Regions from separate parts of the Homo sapiens genome. Here all the other regions are linked to region 1. The links are contacts of gene promoters, found by promoter capture Hi-C in blood cells and fetal thymus (Javierre and others, 2016). All regions are on one chromosome and are shown on one strand. Each heading gives the region's core, a stretch centred on a gene start or on the middle of the fragment in contact. The rest is flanking DNA. Distances are from core to core; before and after follow the strand shown.

The links. The method cuts DNA at HindIII sites, captures the fragments that hold promoters and counts their contacts. A CHiCAGO score of 5 or more calls a contact.
Region 2: a contact is called between a fragment that was not itself captured here and the fragment with the promoter of DND1 in region 1, in 2 of 17 cell types (naive CD8 T cells and monocytes). The highest score is 6.1, in naive CD8 T cells.
Region 3: a contact is called between a fragment that was not itself captured here and the fragment with the promoter of DND1 in region 1, in 1 of 17 cell types (monocytes). The highest score is 6.0, in monocytes.

The regions. Positions count from the first base shown.
Region 1 is chr5:140,671,134-140,676,059 of GRCh38, forward strand. DND1 (DND microRNA-mediated repression inhibitor 1) reads right to left here and starts at 2,443. Exons shown (of 4, transcript NM_194249.3): 1 at 2,386-2,443; 2 at 2,138-2,255; 3 at 1,312-1,773; 4 at 1-617. The coding sequence starts at 2,409. The coding sequence ends at 160. WDR55 (WD repeat domain 55) reads left to right here. Exons shown (of 7, transcript NM_017706.5): 7 at 1-1,212. HARS1 (histidyl-tRNA synthetase 1) reads right to left here. Exons shown (of 13, transcript NM_002109.6): 11 at 3,884-4,000; 12 at 3,546-3,692; 13 at 2,772-3,195. The coding sequence ends at 3,124. RefSeq lists enhancers at 1,317-2,112, 2,113-2,908. The HindIII fragment of the contact is 8,462 bases long and covers 1-2,468 here.
Region 2 is chr5:140,471,602-140,476,527 of GRCh38, forward strand. All of the region lies in intron 10 of ANKHD1-EIF4EBP3 (ANKHD1-EIF4EBP3 readthrough), which reads left to right. All of the region lies in intron 10 of ANKHD1 (ankyrin repeat and KH domain containing 1), which reads left to right. Among named protein-coding and RNA genes, the nearest start is that of ANKHD1-EIF4EBP3, 72 kb to the left of the region's middle. The HindIII fragment of the contact is 5,450 bases long and covers 56-4,926 here.
Region 3 is chr5:140,509,197-140,514,122 of GRCh38, forward strand. It overlaps ANKHD1-EIF4EBP3 (ANKHD1-EIF4EBP3 readthrough), which reads left to right. Exons shown (of 36, transcript NM_020690.6): 21 at 441-616; 22 at 823-985; 23 at 3,632-3,727; 24 at 4,167-4,283. It overlaps ANKHD1 (ankyrin repeat and KH domain containing 1), which reads left to right. Exons shown (of 34, transcript NM_017747.3): 21 at 441-616; 22 at 823-985; 23 at 3,632-3,727; 24 at 4,167-4,283. Among named protein-coding and RNA genes, the nearest start is that of EIF4EBP3, 36 kb to the right of the region's middle. The HindIII fragment of the contact is 669 bases long and covers 2,061-2,729 here.

The DNA of each region.
Region 1 (4,926 bases), core at 1,193-3,692:
GGTGCCATAGGTCCCTGTCCCAGCAGGGAGGCTGATGGGCCTGGGCCCATGCCCCTCCCCACCTTTGGGGGTCAGAAAGTGGCCACCCAGGCCTGCTGGGATGGGGCCTGACACAGGCTCTGCATGCCCATTCAGGGTGCCTGTGGAGAAAGAATGGAGTCACTGTTTAACCATGGTACCTGCCTCAGCCCCAGCAGACCACAGGAGGTTGGCCCCAGACTCACTGAGTGCCTGCAGCAGCCGTACAGACACAGCATCCTTGGCCACCTCATGCCCATCCCGGCCATCTAGGGTCAGCACAACCCAGATGAGGCCGCTGAAGGGCACCGGATGCCCAGGAATCACCACCTGGTACCAGAAGCGGTGCCAGCCAGCAGGTCCTATGCCCAAACACTTGGTGAGGAACACAGGGCTGCCCAGCTTCATTCGTTGGCACAGCAACTGCAGGGTAGCCCGAGCCCCTTGGAACCCTAACTTGTCCCTTGCCAAAGCCAACTGGCTGCCCTCTGGCTGTGGGGACCGCAAGAAGGGACCCACAAGCTGCTGGCGAAGTCGCTGCTTCAGGTCTGGCTTGAGCCACTCCACAGCCACCTGCTCTCCACAGAGGTGTGACTGCCCTGTAGGAAAAATGCAAAGACAAGGGCAGGTCTAAACCCTGGGCCCAAGCCTCCAGGTGGTGAGCCCTTTGGAGCTACACAGTCCTGTTATTTGTAGCCTTCCCATTTCCTGGTAGTGTGACCATGGGTAAGAAAAGACAATGAAGCCTTCAGCCTCCATTATTTGCAAAGGGAGTATAACACACTGCTACCTTACAAGTTTCCTTGGAGAAGTACTGGTTAATTGCAGGCTTTGTCTGCCTCATAACCATCATAATGGCTAATCTTTACTGGGAAAACTTGCTGTAAGTCAGTCAGTGTGCTAAGTACCGTACACCCATTATGTTACTTAATTCTCATAACAGTCTGAGGAAACAGATTCTATAGTAGTAAAAAGCTCAGTTGGATTCCCTTGAGCAAATCAATTTCTCTAACAGTTTCCTCATAGCTTGAGGGTCCTGTGCCTATTTTGCGGTGTGGGGGTGGGGGAAGGTTGAGAATTAAGTCAGGAGGTAATGCTCGGGAAGTGTCACAAATTTAGGTAAGCGGTGGTGGTAGCACCATTGGAAGTTTTAAAAATCTGAGATCAAATAGTAAAAGGTTGCAAATTCTGGCATGTTTGACTCTAAGATCTTGTAACTTTAACAGCTATGCTCAGTATAAAGTGCCGGGCAGAACGCGTTTGGCCCCAACCAGCACCCCCGCCCCAGCCTACCTTCCACCAGGGCCTTTTTGGCCATGGCAGCGGCCCGGTGCGAGCTGAATTTGAGCAGAGCGATCTGCCCGGGCGCCGGTCCGGGGCTGGGCAGCAGCCGCGCCTCCTGCAAGCCGGGACCCAGCGGCTGCAGCGCGAGCAGCAGCGCGCTGCGGGTCAGATTCGGCGGCAGGCCGTCAACGCTCAGCTCACACTTCTCGGTGCTGCGGCACACGAGCAGCGGGCAGGACGGCCGCAGCGGATGGTTGTGCAGCGTGGCGATGGCGGCCTGCGCGCCGCGCCTCGAGCTGTAGCGGGCATAGGCGAAGCCGCGGTTCAGGCCGCTGAAGGTCATCATCAGGCGGAACTCGTAGAGGCGGCCCACGCGCTGGAACAGCGGGATAAGCTGGTGCTCGTACACGTCCTGAGGCAGCCGCCCGATGAACACCTCTGACCCAGCTGGCGGCGGGCTGCCCACCCAGCCTGTGGGAAGAGGGTATGCAAGGCCACCGTCAGGCGACGCTTTCGAATTCTGAGCCCACGGACCCAGCGCGCGGGGGTGGGAGGCGATGTGAACAAAGGTCTGTGAAATGGGTTTACACCCGTACCCTGGGTGGTTGGCATAATTAGGTGACTGCGCTAACAAGGGGGCTGGCACAGAGTAGGTACACCTTGAGATTGGCCCCCTCCCTCGACGGGGCGGGTGGACGTGGAGCCACAGTTCCTCCTTTGCTGGGGGGTATAAATCCGGGTAGTTCGCAGTTTCTGACAGTGAAGGCTCGGAGCAGCCCCTCCCCCAAAGGGGGCTGGTGTAGCCGGACAGGCGGAGGGGCTGGGACTACCGTACCTGGGGGTGGCCCGCCATACTTCCTCTGCCCGTTCACCTGCACCAGGCGGATGCCTGTCTCCCTGACCCACGCCTCCAGCGCCGCCTTGTTCTCTGGATTCACCCTCTCACACCACAGCTGAGAGGGAAAGGAAGGTTGGAATGGCGGATCGCCAAGCGCGCCCCCACCTCTCCTGTGGTACTGGGGTCCCTAAAGCCGACCCCCGCTCCGGCGGGGCTCGCCGGCCCCCAAGTCGCCAGCCGCTTACCTCACAATCCCGCTTGGACTGCATGGCTCTCCAGCTGGCCCCCTCGTACCCTCTTTATAACTTCCTCCCCACCGGCCTCTGGAAGCTTCCCTACCCCTCCACCCCGCAAGCTCTCATTGGCTCTGAGCGCGACCCCGCCTCCCAGGGGGGTGGAGGTATCCACTGCACGTGCGCCGCCCGGGCTTCGCTCAGACCTTCAGGTGAAAGCTGCAAAGTCGCGGGTGCGTATGTACGGGGGCTGCCTCCCGAGGAGGAGCTCCCAAGCCGCAGGGTGGACGCTGGAGACAAGAACCTCAGGGTCACAAGTTTACTGTTTTTCTCCCTTTTCCATCCCTACATTGGTCTGCTGGGGAAGGCGGGGCTAGGCATCACTGACACACGCAGACTCCGTGGTTGAGGCATTTTATTGGACCTTTGGCAATTGGTGGTGGGGAGGCATCTGCTCCAACTGGTGCGGGGCCCTGCAGATGGGACCATCTCAGGCTGGGTCCTTGTAGCCCAGGAGCACAGACTGGACTAAGCCTCCTGGGCCTTGTATGAAAAAGGTGTTGTACCTGGCCGTTTTTGCCAGTAATAATCAATAAAATAACCATAATAAAAATCAAAGGCTCTGTTCTGACCACTCTTCAGGTCTTCCGCTGAAACGGAAAAGTGCAAAGCAATTGAAGTACATATGCAGTTTGTCTTAACCTCAAATAGTGCCAGTCCCACTTCCTTTCCTCTGATAGTTTGTTCAGTTCAGCAGATGCAGAGGGGCTGGCCTGTTCTCCTTTTGATTTCCTCCACAAGGTCTTCTCTTCGGACATCCACCTGGCCAGGATGGGAGAAGAAGGTGGTATAAGCATCTTCCATTCCACTGCTCCCCGAGTGCCTAGTTTCCTCTAGCCCTCTAGGCATCAGGCTTGTCTCAGCTGGGAGCAGGAACCTAATTAAACACCTCAGGCTAGAGTGTGCCTCTTGGGGGAGCCAACAAACCATAAGGTATATGCAGGGATGGAGATCTCACCCTACTAAGACCACAGTAACAGGTTAAGCCCTCAAGGCTTTTATGAGTTGTACTAATATCAATGCCAGGCTTTTTCTCAGGTCTTGAATGGGCATGGGCCTGCCAAAATGGCATACATTCTCTGTCCCTTAGCCTTCCTGCCCACCTCCCTCACCTCTTCCCTGCTCGTCACTGAACGGAGCTTGATGACCCCATCCTTGAGTTCCTGCTCGCCGATGATAGCCACCAGTGGGATGCCTGCCTCCTCACAGTACTGTAACTGGTTCAGTAGCTTTGGGTTCTTCTTGTACAGCAGCTCAGCCTGCAGGGGACAAGAGCAGAAGATGAAGGCTGGCTTCTGCTGTCCTCAGGGACAGAGGGTGTCCAAGCTGGCACCCTGTTCTTAGCTCTACTTTTGAGAAGTAATGGCAGGATCCATTATGGGTGAGCTTTTATTCAGTTTGTGTCCAGCACACCTAAGTTTGCTGCCACCCTGGGGCTTGCCTCCCATACCTTGATCCCAGCATCCCACAGTTCTGAGACAAGCTTTAGTCTTTCCTCTAGCAGCTTCTTCTGTGCAGATGCCACAAGCACCTGTGTCTCCGTGGTCCGTATCTTCTCCTCCAAAGCCTGGGGAAGGGGCAGATAAAAGAGAGCTGGGCTAACACCTTCAAGGAGCAAACAAAGCAGGCTCTAGTCGGGATTTTGAGACCAGGCCCAACTCAGCTCTACCAGGGCAGGGGCCCTGTCTTCTCATCTAGCACCTTGGGCATAAAGGTAGCTTTTAGTAGATATGAGGACTGAACTGACTGACTTGTACATAGGACGTATCAGAATAAATAACTTAGGGCAAGAGTAAAGGTAGCTTTTTTACAGTAACTTCAAGCTTATCTCCATGTAGTACCTTTTTTTTTTTTTTGAGACAGGGTCTCTGTCATCCAGGCTGAAGTGCCGTGGTGTGATCACTGCAGCTTCGACCTCCCAAGCTCAAGTGATCCTCCCACCTCAGCCTCCTGACTACAGGCACACACCACCATACTCAGCTAATTTAAAAAAAAAAAAAAATTTTTTTTTTTAATCTGTAGAGACAGGGTCTCATCATGTTGCCCAGGCTGGTCCATGTAGTACCTTAAGGGTCCACCAAAGCATTCACACAGAAGTACTACTATGAGCCCACCCCAATTAGATCACCCTTGACAGTTTTAGTCCCCACTTACTATCTACCCATTTATGACACTGTGCCTCTCACACTTCAGTTACAGGGCACAGGCGTGTATATGGGTGTGGGGAAAGGAGAATGCTGCTGCTGCTTCCCTTGTCTTTTTCAGGAAAACTATTTTCATAGTTCTTAGAATGTAAGATGCCTACTGGAAAAATGATCTCAACTGGGAAATGGGTGGTTTCCACCCTAGAGAAAAGGCATAGGACTGTGGGGAGGTTGCCAGAGCATTTCCCAGAAGATGAAATGCAACCAGCCACTTAAGACCAGCAGCAACAAAGGAGGGCTTGAGGCTACAAGAGGCTTCCTTGGTGTTACTCTAGGTGCTAGAGAGTCA
Region 2 (4,926 bases), core at 1,531-4,030, 200 kb before region 1:
CTAGGCCACATTTCCTTTATTTGGAGATTTAGTTGACTCTGGTCAATGACTGAAAAGCTTCTTATGGTTTCCTAAGTTGTATCCCTGTCTCACCTTTAGATAGTTTCTCTCTGTTAAGAGTCTAGATCTAGAGAAAATACAAACATTCCATTTCTCAAGTTCTTTGAAGGTTCTTGTTTTAGTTGAAAAGTGGAAGCCTTAAGTACATTTATAATGAGGGGAAAAGCTATGTAACTATTTATCTTACAGTATTTTCCTCCGTCCTCCCAACTTCTGATATGCCCAAATCTCTTGATTTCATTATTTTCTTTGGTTAGATATTTTTAAATGTTGCTCTGTTTTTGTGGCTTTGTTTTTTGAGACAAAGGCATGAATTTAAATAATTCTGCAGAAATATTTCTACATATATTAAGATTTATATTGAAGTTTTATTGGTAAAAAACCATAATATCACCCCCTTAAAAAAATTTATACTCTGCTCATGACATTACAGTCTCTACAGATGAGAATCTTTTTAGTTGAAGATCCTGAGTTAACAAAGCCCACCATCTGAAGTATCGGTCACAAGGTCTTCATGGCCAAATGTGATTTTCGTTTTTGGAATAAGATCCGTGAGTTCTTCTTTTTCCTTTCGCAGGACAAGCAGGAGGACATGAAGACTATTTTGGAGGGCATAGATCCGGCCAAGCATCAGGTGAGGGTGGCCTTTGATGCTTGTAAGCTACTACGTAAAGAATAGATGTTGTAGGTAACCAGAACTCTGGATATCTGAATTCCAGCCAAGAAGTTCCAGGACCCTGCTGGGTGACAAAGGAAATCCTCTTCAATTGAAAAAGATTATGAAGTCCCAATAAAAAGAGATTTGTATTGCTGGTAGTTTGTTTCCTTAGTCTTCTTTCTCAGTGATATTCCTAAAAAAATCTCTTAGGTGAAAATAGATTTTCTTATTCAGGTAGTTCTTTTACATTCTCCTTTATTGGGAGAGTTAGTATACCGCAGAGAGAAAGTCTCAGTAATAAAGTCCTTTGCATTCAACTTTGTTCATCAAAAATCTGAAACTCAGAGTGATATTAATATATTGGATTGTTTTAAAAATAATACTCAAATAAACAAAAAAATTAGTTTAGCAAAACGTTTACTATATAGTTTATGCCCTAATTTCTATAAACTAGAAGTTTAAAATTTTCTTCTTAAAATTGTCTCCTACTATTCTGAAATTGGTTTTTAAGAAGGTGAATATTTTTTCATAGGAAATATTTCTTTTGAAAAAATGTGTGAATTTGTGCCCAGTGGTTTTAAAAGTCAAATAAATTTAATATCCATTATAATCCAAAGAGATTTATTTAAAATCAGGAGCAGTTTTTAATTTTAAAATTATTAATGAATTGTGATTAGATCACAAATAACTTAGGCCATCTAAGTTTCTTTTTTTTTTTTTTTTTGAGACAGAGTCTCGCCCTGTTGCCCAGGCTGGAGTGCAGTGGTGCTGCAATCTTGGCTCCCTGCAGCCTCTGCCTCCTGGGTTCAAGCGATTATCCTGCCCCAGCCTCCCAAGTAACTGGGATTACAGGCGCGTGCCACCGTGCCTACCTAATTTTTTGCATCTTTAGTAGAGACGGGGTTTCACCATGTTGGCTGGGCTGGTCTCGAACTCCTGACCTTGTGATCTACCCGCCTCGGCCTCCTAAAGTGCTGGGATTACAGGCGTGAGTCACCGTGCCTGGCCTAAGTTTCTTAATTCTAAACCCCTCTTAATCATGATGCTTATTAAGTGTCTTCATCATTGGCTTGTTAAATGAGAAGCTGTTTTATTTATTCTGTTGAGATTTTTAAAAATTTTTTAAATTTTTTTTTTTTGAGACAGGGTCTCACTCTGTTGCTCAGGCTGGAATGCAGTGGTGTGCTCTTGGCTCACTGCAGCCTTCCCATCCCAGGCTCAAGTGATCTTCCTGCCTCAGCCTCCCCAGTAGCTGGGACTAGAGGCATGTGCCACCATGCCCAACTAATTTTTTTCATTTTTATAGAGATGAGGTCTCACTGTACTGTCCAGGCTGGATATATTTATTCTACTTTGAAGTAAGTAAGTTTATTTTACAAAATGTGATGTGAACATGTGAGCTTCTACTCAGTTTGTATAATATTATAGGCTCCTATCAAGAATGTAAAGCTGAGTGTTATTTCAGATCAAAGTAATTGTTTTTCCCTGGATTTGTTAGATGAAATGTAATTGTAAATCTTTCTCTCTAGCTGCAAGTCTCAAAACAGGATTTTTTTAAAAATGAGTTTTGCAGCCCCACGTTTACAGGTTCAGATTCCATAGATCTGAAATAGGGGGTCTGCATTTGAACTAATATCTCAGGAGATTCTGATGACAAGTTCTCCATATTTTACACTTTGAGACATTGGTAGAGGCCATACAGATTATTCTGCATCATTGCTGAGTTCTTTTCTTTTTCCATCTTTGCTTTATAATCGATCATTTTTCCTCCATCCAAATTGAATAAACTTGGTTTTTCTCTCTGTTACTTGTGATTTTTAGAAAATGTGCTAAACACAAGCCTTAGGACCAGTGCCTCTTAACCTTTTATCCATATCAGTTCTCCTGAGGGGTATGAATCCAATCAGTAATAGTAGATCACTAAGGTAATGATTAATATACAGTGGTGGGTTGAAGGAACATACTCCCCATGGAAGAGTATTGGAATCCTCTAGTACGTACAGTATCAAACAGTCTCCCTCCTTTTCTCTGTGATTTTGGTCTTTCTCCTTAGAGAATGTCCTCCCTCCAACTCCAAAAGACATTGCCTCTGTGGTATAGTTACAGTCCTTAAATATATGTCTTGGGTGCCCTGTGGCTGTGATTTTTTAAGGGAAATTAACTTATTTTAAATAAAATAAACTTAATTTAAAATAAAATTTTGTTATCTAAAGCCAAATAGAAAAAATTCCACATTTTTTCTTACAGTGCTCATTCATCAGAACCTTTTTTTTTTCTTCTTTTTTTTTTTTTTTTTGGAGATGGTCTCACTTTGTCGCTCAGGCTAGAGTACAAAAGCGTGATTATAGCTCACTGCAGCTTTGAACTCCTGGGCTCATGGCATCCCCTTTCCTCAGCCTCCTGAGTAGCTAGGACTACAGGTATGCACCACAATGCCTGGCTAATTTTTAAATTTTTTTTCAGAGACAAAGTCTTGCTATCTTGCCCAGACTTGTAGTGTATTTTTTATAGATATATTTTTAGGGAGCTTATGAGCTCTAGTAATCTACTTATCAATGTATTTCAACTGTTAGTAATTACCTTACCTTAATAAACTTTAAATGTGACCTTACCTTCCACTTTTTAACTTTTTTATTAAGGAATAGCGTATATACATATTTTTAACTTTACTACTTAAAACTAGGAAACTTCTGTCAATTTCTTAAAAATCTAAAACTACCTATGGAATACACAAAACTCCTAATACATTTCTTTTAAAGCCAAGTTCTCTCTTTCTATGTTATTGTGTATTGAATGAGTTCTTTTCAGCTCTCTCCAGGTTGTTTAAATATAAGTACAAATGACTTCAGTCAAGAAGGTAAAGTCATTATTAGTATATAGAAAAATGAATCTAAAAATATGTAGTCGTGCCCCAAAACAACAGGATTAAAGATCTCCGTGGACTAGAAGTGCAGCATGGATCCACAGTTTAAGCTGTAGTCCCAAGGAGAATTAAGGGCTAAAAAAATACACAATGGGGGCTGAGATTTCAGCATGTGCAGAGGAATAGGGAATGAATGCATTTCACATGTAGTACATCAGTAGATCTAGTCTACTTGAATAAAGCAAGGAACCGGCATCTTATTGCCCTACCTGTGAACCAAAATGGATAAAAAAATATTTGATCAACTATCTAGGGTTATGGTTAGAAATTAGCAAATTGTCATATCCAGGTTGTATGTAAAAAACAAAACAAAACAAACCCAAAAAAACTAAAAAAAAGGGGGGAAAAATTAGCAAATTGTCGTTAATGGAAGAAACAGAGACAACTGTGTAACTAAAAACTTGGAGGACAACCTTCTTGATTTAGGGAACAGAAGTGAAATATCTCTATGAGACAAGAACCTTAGGTGTCCAGCAAAATATCTACTTCTGAAATGGACTCCAAGAGCCAGACTGAGGGAACTTCCAAAACATCTGATGAGGAGTACATCTGTGGATGGAAAAGAAACTAAAACAAAACACCTCCCATCAAAATGAGTTTCCTCAGTAAAAAAATTATAAAGCTGGAGAGCGAATCTTTATCAAGAAAGATAGTCAAAATGTAAACAAACAAAAAGCAAAATATAATACACTCAAGGAAATTGAAATAAACTTTAATCTTGAGAATTATGAACATGTTTATTTTAAACTATGACCAGTAGCCATAAAACAATGTGAGATAATAAAGCAAAAGCTGATAATTACGTATTAAGAACAGGTGGATATAAAATAAAACTAAAAGTTTTGGGGGGTAACCTCAATATATAGGGTAAGACAGCATATTAGACACAGTTGAATGCATTAGTGAATGAGTGATAAAACAAGAAATAATACAATAAAATATATAATGAAATATAGTAAAGAGATAGAAAATATGAAAAAGAAATTGAGAGAAAGAGAATAGATTAGAAGCTCCACCATATTATCTACTAGAAGTTCCTGAAGGAGAGGATAGAAATGGAGGGGAGAGGAAATGTTTGAAGAGAATGGTGGAGAATTTTCTAGCATTGTGACTAGACATGAATCCTTGACTGAAGAATCATATCCATCACTAAGCAGAACAGATGAAACTGTGGAACTTTAAGGATAATGAAAAATGTCTTAAAAGCTATCAGAGGAAAAAAACGCATTACCTACAAAAAAACAACCATCAAAGTTTTGACCTTCTCATCAGCAATAATAAATTA
Region 3 (4,926 bases), core at 1,145-3,644, 160 kb before region 1:
AGAGAAATCTGTGTTATTTTGGATAGTACCAGTAGGAAATGTCCTTTGAAAAAATGTTGGAGACTAACGTACCAAAGGCACATATGCAAAAAATTTATAAAGTGATTTTAATCTACTTATTTTTAATATCTCTATTCATTATGCAAAGAAATTATCTGAGTAAATTCACAAAAGTATAGAAGTTACAGAATTGTTTTTAGCATGAGATAACATGTTTTAAGTTCATTCTAGCACGTCTGAATCTAACAATTTCTACTGCTGTTTAGTAAAATTCAAGGCAAAATATTGCTTAGCTCTTTTATGAGAGCTAATCAGAACTAGAATTGTCTTAAAAGTTAATTGCCTCAGGTTTTTAAAGAAATTATGTAGCTTAGTTTTGGTCTACGGAATAGTTAAAAAAAGAAATGTAACTTAGTTGCATAATTTATTGGTTTAAACAGACGGGTCTTACCCCCTTGATGGAAGCAGCTTCTGGAGGGTATGCAGAGGTTGGAAGAGTTCTTCTTGATAAAGGAGCAGATGTTAATGCTCCCCCTGTGCCTTCCTCAAGAGATACTGCTTTAACAATAGCAGCAGACAAAGGTCACTACAAATTTTGTGAACTCCTGATTCATAGGTGAGTACTTTTCTATTATATGTAGAACTTCTCATGGTCATTTTCACTTTTCAGAGCTTTTAAAGTTAATAACATTGTTTTACTTTATTGATATTGTTAAGAAAAGATTATTTGCAAGTTATTTTGTAAAAGAAGAAGATAGAGAAAACTAGAAAAAGCCAGCCTCTTCTTACAGGAAACAAACTATTAATATGCCTTGTTTACAGGGGAGCCCACATTGATGTTCGTAACAAAAAGGGAAATACGCCACTTTGGCTGGCATCCAATGGAGGTCATTTTGATGTTGTGCAGTTGCTAGTGCAAGCAGGTGCTGATGTGGATGCAGCAGATAACCGGAAAATCACACCTCTTATGTCAGCATTTCGCAAGGTAATTTGATATGGGGGAAGAAAGGTCAATTTTAAGCCAATTCTAAGTTAAAACCATGTGAGAAAGATAAGTTTATCTTGGAGAATTGAGTATATTTCCATAGAAAAATCACTGCTATCTTTCCATTCTTTTTTTTTTTTTTTTTTTTTGAGACGGAGTCTTACTCTGTCACATAGGCTAGAATGCAGTGGCATGATCGCGGCTCACTGCAACCTCTGCCTCCCAGGTTCAAGTGATTCTCCTGCCTCAGCCTCCTGAGTAGCTGGGATTACAGGCATGCGTCACCACACCCGGCTAATTTTTGTATTTTTAGTAGAGATGGGGTGTCACCACGTTGGTCAGGCTGGTCTCAAACTCCTGACTTTGTGATCTGCCTGCCTCAGCCTCCCAAAGTGCTAGGATTACAGGCTCCCGACCTTATCTTTCCATTCTTTTGTGGCCAAATCTAAGATCTATGTGGTAGTTCACTATAAGCAACTTGGTTGTTAAATCACTTGGTGTCTTGACTATTTGTGATACATTGTTCATGAAACAGAAGATTTAAGAAAAACTATTATATGCAGATGGATTTTTTTGTGCCTAAAGAGGAACAAAAAGGAGTAGACTTTCATAAAAACTTACTGTATCTTCTGTGTGCGTGTGTGTGTGTGTGTGTGAGTATGAAACGGTCTCAGTCTGTCAACCAGGCTGGAGTGCAGTGGCATGATCATAGCTCACTATAGCCTCAACCTCCCAGGCTCAATTGATCCTCCCGCCTCAGCCTCCTGAGTAGCTGGGACCACAGGTGTCACTACCATGCTCAGATTTTTTTTATTTTTACTTTTTGTAGAGACGAGGTCTTGCTATGTTGCCCAGGCTGGTCTCAAACTCCTGGGCTCAGCGATTCTCCCACCTCTGCCTGCCAAAGTGCTGAGATATGGGCGTGAGCCATGCCTCTCATATATATTAAAGTTCATGCCCGGCCTCTCATATATATTAAAGTTCACTTATCTGCTGTATTTTTAAAAGCCTTCCCATTGGTATAGCTTCCCAAACTATAAACTACTTAGTAGGGCATGTAAAGACCTGCATAATAAGCTTCATGTCAACCTCCCCATACAAATCATTTATGCTACTATCCCCTTTTGCTCACTGTTTTCTAGTTACTGGCCTAGAATGCACTAAATTTTCAACTGCCTCAGGGCCTTTGCTCACTGATTTTCTTTTCCTGAAATGATTTCCTTTGCTGTTCACCTAGCTCACCTCTCTACTCATCTGTTAGCTCCAATTTTACATGTCAGTTCTCAAAGAGTATTTCTCTAACACCAAATCTGAAAAAGGTCCCTCTGTTTCTCTTTTATAGTTGAGTTTTGATTTTCCTTACCCCAATTTGTAATTATATCTTCAAACATGTACTTACCATTTTAATGCCTGTCTCGCCAACTAGACTGGTAGGTCCATGAGGACAAGAGTCATGACCATCTTTTTCAGCACTGTTTATATACCCAGTTGTTTAGCACAGTGCAATTTACATATAGTGAAATGCATGAATCTTAAGGTACATGGTTTAGTTTTGATAAACGTATACATACATGTAACCCATACCCCATAAACATATAAATTATTTCTGTAACCCTAGAAGGTTCCCTCTTGCCCACTTTTAGTCACTTCCCTGCCCCAGAGGCAAGCATTTCTCTGATTTGTATCTCCATCACACTAATTCTTAAGGATGTTTTAGAACCTTGGTAGGAAGGGAAACTATGCAAGCTTGGTTACATTAAAATAGATATGCTGGCCGGGTGCGGTGGCTCACGCCCATAATCCCAGCACTTTGGGAGGCCGAGTCAGGTGGATCACCTGAGGTCAGGAGTTCAAGACCAGCCTGGCCAACATGGTAAATCCCCGTCTCTACTAAAAATACAAAAATTAGCCAGGCGTGATGGTAGGCACCTGTAATCTCAGCTACTCCGGAGGCTGAGGCAGGAGAGTTGCTAGAACCCGGGAGGCGGAGGTTGCAGTGAGACAAGAGCGTGCCGTGGCACTCCAGCCGGGGCAACAACAGCGAGACTCCCATCTCAAAAAAAAAAAAAAAAAGATATGCTTAGAATTGATTACAGATCTTTCAACCCTTGATAATGGCATTTAGAAAGTGTTTTATTTAGATTCAAGTCCTAAGGCTCAGAAAGTTGTGATAGTCCACCTTGTTTAGTTAGTGAAGTAGAGGCAAAGTAAGACTTTGAAATTTAAAAAAAAATTACTTATTTTAGGACTCATTTCCCTTTTACACTGAGGTTCATTTTACATCACCAATGTTTGTTTAATAGATTTATTCTAGGAGATACTGTTTTTCTACAAAAGCTTTTTCTAATTTCAGTGGGATTAAATTCAGGAGAAATGTTGTCTAGTCCACCATCCATTCCTGAGCACACATTCTTGTCTTTTATGCCTTTCTTTTTATAAGCTGAATGCTGATCTTATTTTTATAATTTTAATTTTAAGCTTAATATTCTATTTGGAAGTATTTGCCTTTTTATTCTTAAATTGGTAGGCATATATGCAAAATCAAGGGATTCCTTTGTAATTCTGTTGTTTTACTTTCTTTTATTCTTAAGAATAATAATTTTTCTTTTCATGCTACCTTGTCTAAGATTGTTGTACTTCTTATAGGGTCATGTAAAAGTTGTTCAATATTTGGTAAAGGAAGTAAATCAGTTCCCTTCTGATATAGAATGCATGAGATACATAGCAACAATTACAGATAAGGTAAGTTTAATATGCTACTGAAGCACATTTTTGTTCTTTGTGGAATGATATGCCAAAGTGTGCAGTTAGGAACTTGTTCTTTTTATATTCTGAAAGGTTGGTCACCTGATCTCTTTATGCGTTTGTTTCTCCATTTGCAAAATAGAGGGGTATAATACTTTTGATAAACTATTTTGAGATTTCTACTGTGGACCATAGTCACAGTGACTACACTAAGGTACTAAACCATTAGCCTAATGAGAAGGCTTCCTAAGGACATGCAGGTTTTTAGGGAAATGGTGTCTTATTTTTGTGAAAGATTGGACTCAAAGGATAACTTAATTTGGTTTAGTGACTTTTCAGTTTGAACTTTAACCTCTGGACTTTAATGTGCTCATCAGCTTAAGTTTTATTTGGCCTCTTTCATTATATATTTACATAATTCTATTTCCTGCTGTAGGAACTGTTGAAAAAATGTCATCAATGTGTCGAAACCATTGTGAAGGCTAAAGACCAGCAAGCTGCAGAAGCAAATAAGAATGCGAGTATTCTTTTAAAGGAACTTGATCTGGAAAAGGTGAGTGGGAAAAATAATTTTCCTTTTTAGAAATTATTGAGGGTGGGGGCCGGGCACGGTGGCTCACGCCTATGATCCCAGCACTTCAGAAGGCCAAGGCGGGTGGATTACCTGAGGTCAGGAGTTCAAGACCAGCCTTGCTAACAAGGTGAAACCCTGTCTCTACTAAAAATACAAAAATTAGCCAGGTGTGGTGGCACACCCCTGTAATCCCAGCTACTCGGGAGGCTGAGGCAGGAGAATTGCTTGAGCCCGGGAGGCAGAGGTTGCAGTGAGTCGAGATCGTGCCACTGCACTCCAGCCTGGCTGACAGAGCGAGACTGTCTCAAAAAAAAAAAAAAAAAGAAAGAAATTATTGAGGGTGGGCGTGGTGGCTCACACCTGTAATCCCAGCACTTTGGGAGGCTGAGCCTAGGAGTTTGAGATCAGTTTGGTCAACATAGAGAGGATGGCCTGAGCCCAGGAGGCAGAGGTTGCAGTGAGCTGTGATTGTGCCACTGCACTCTAGCCTGGGTGACAGAGTGAGACCCCATCTCTACAAAAAAAAGTTTAAAAAACAGTTGGGCATGGTGGTACATGCCTGCAATCCTAGCTATTCAGGAGGCTGAAGTGGAAGGATCACTTGAGTCCAGGAGTTCGAGGC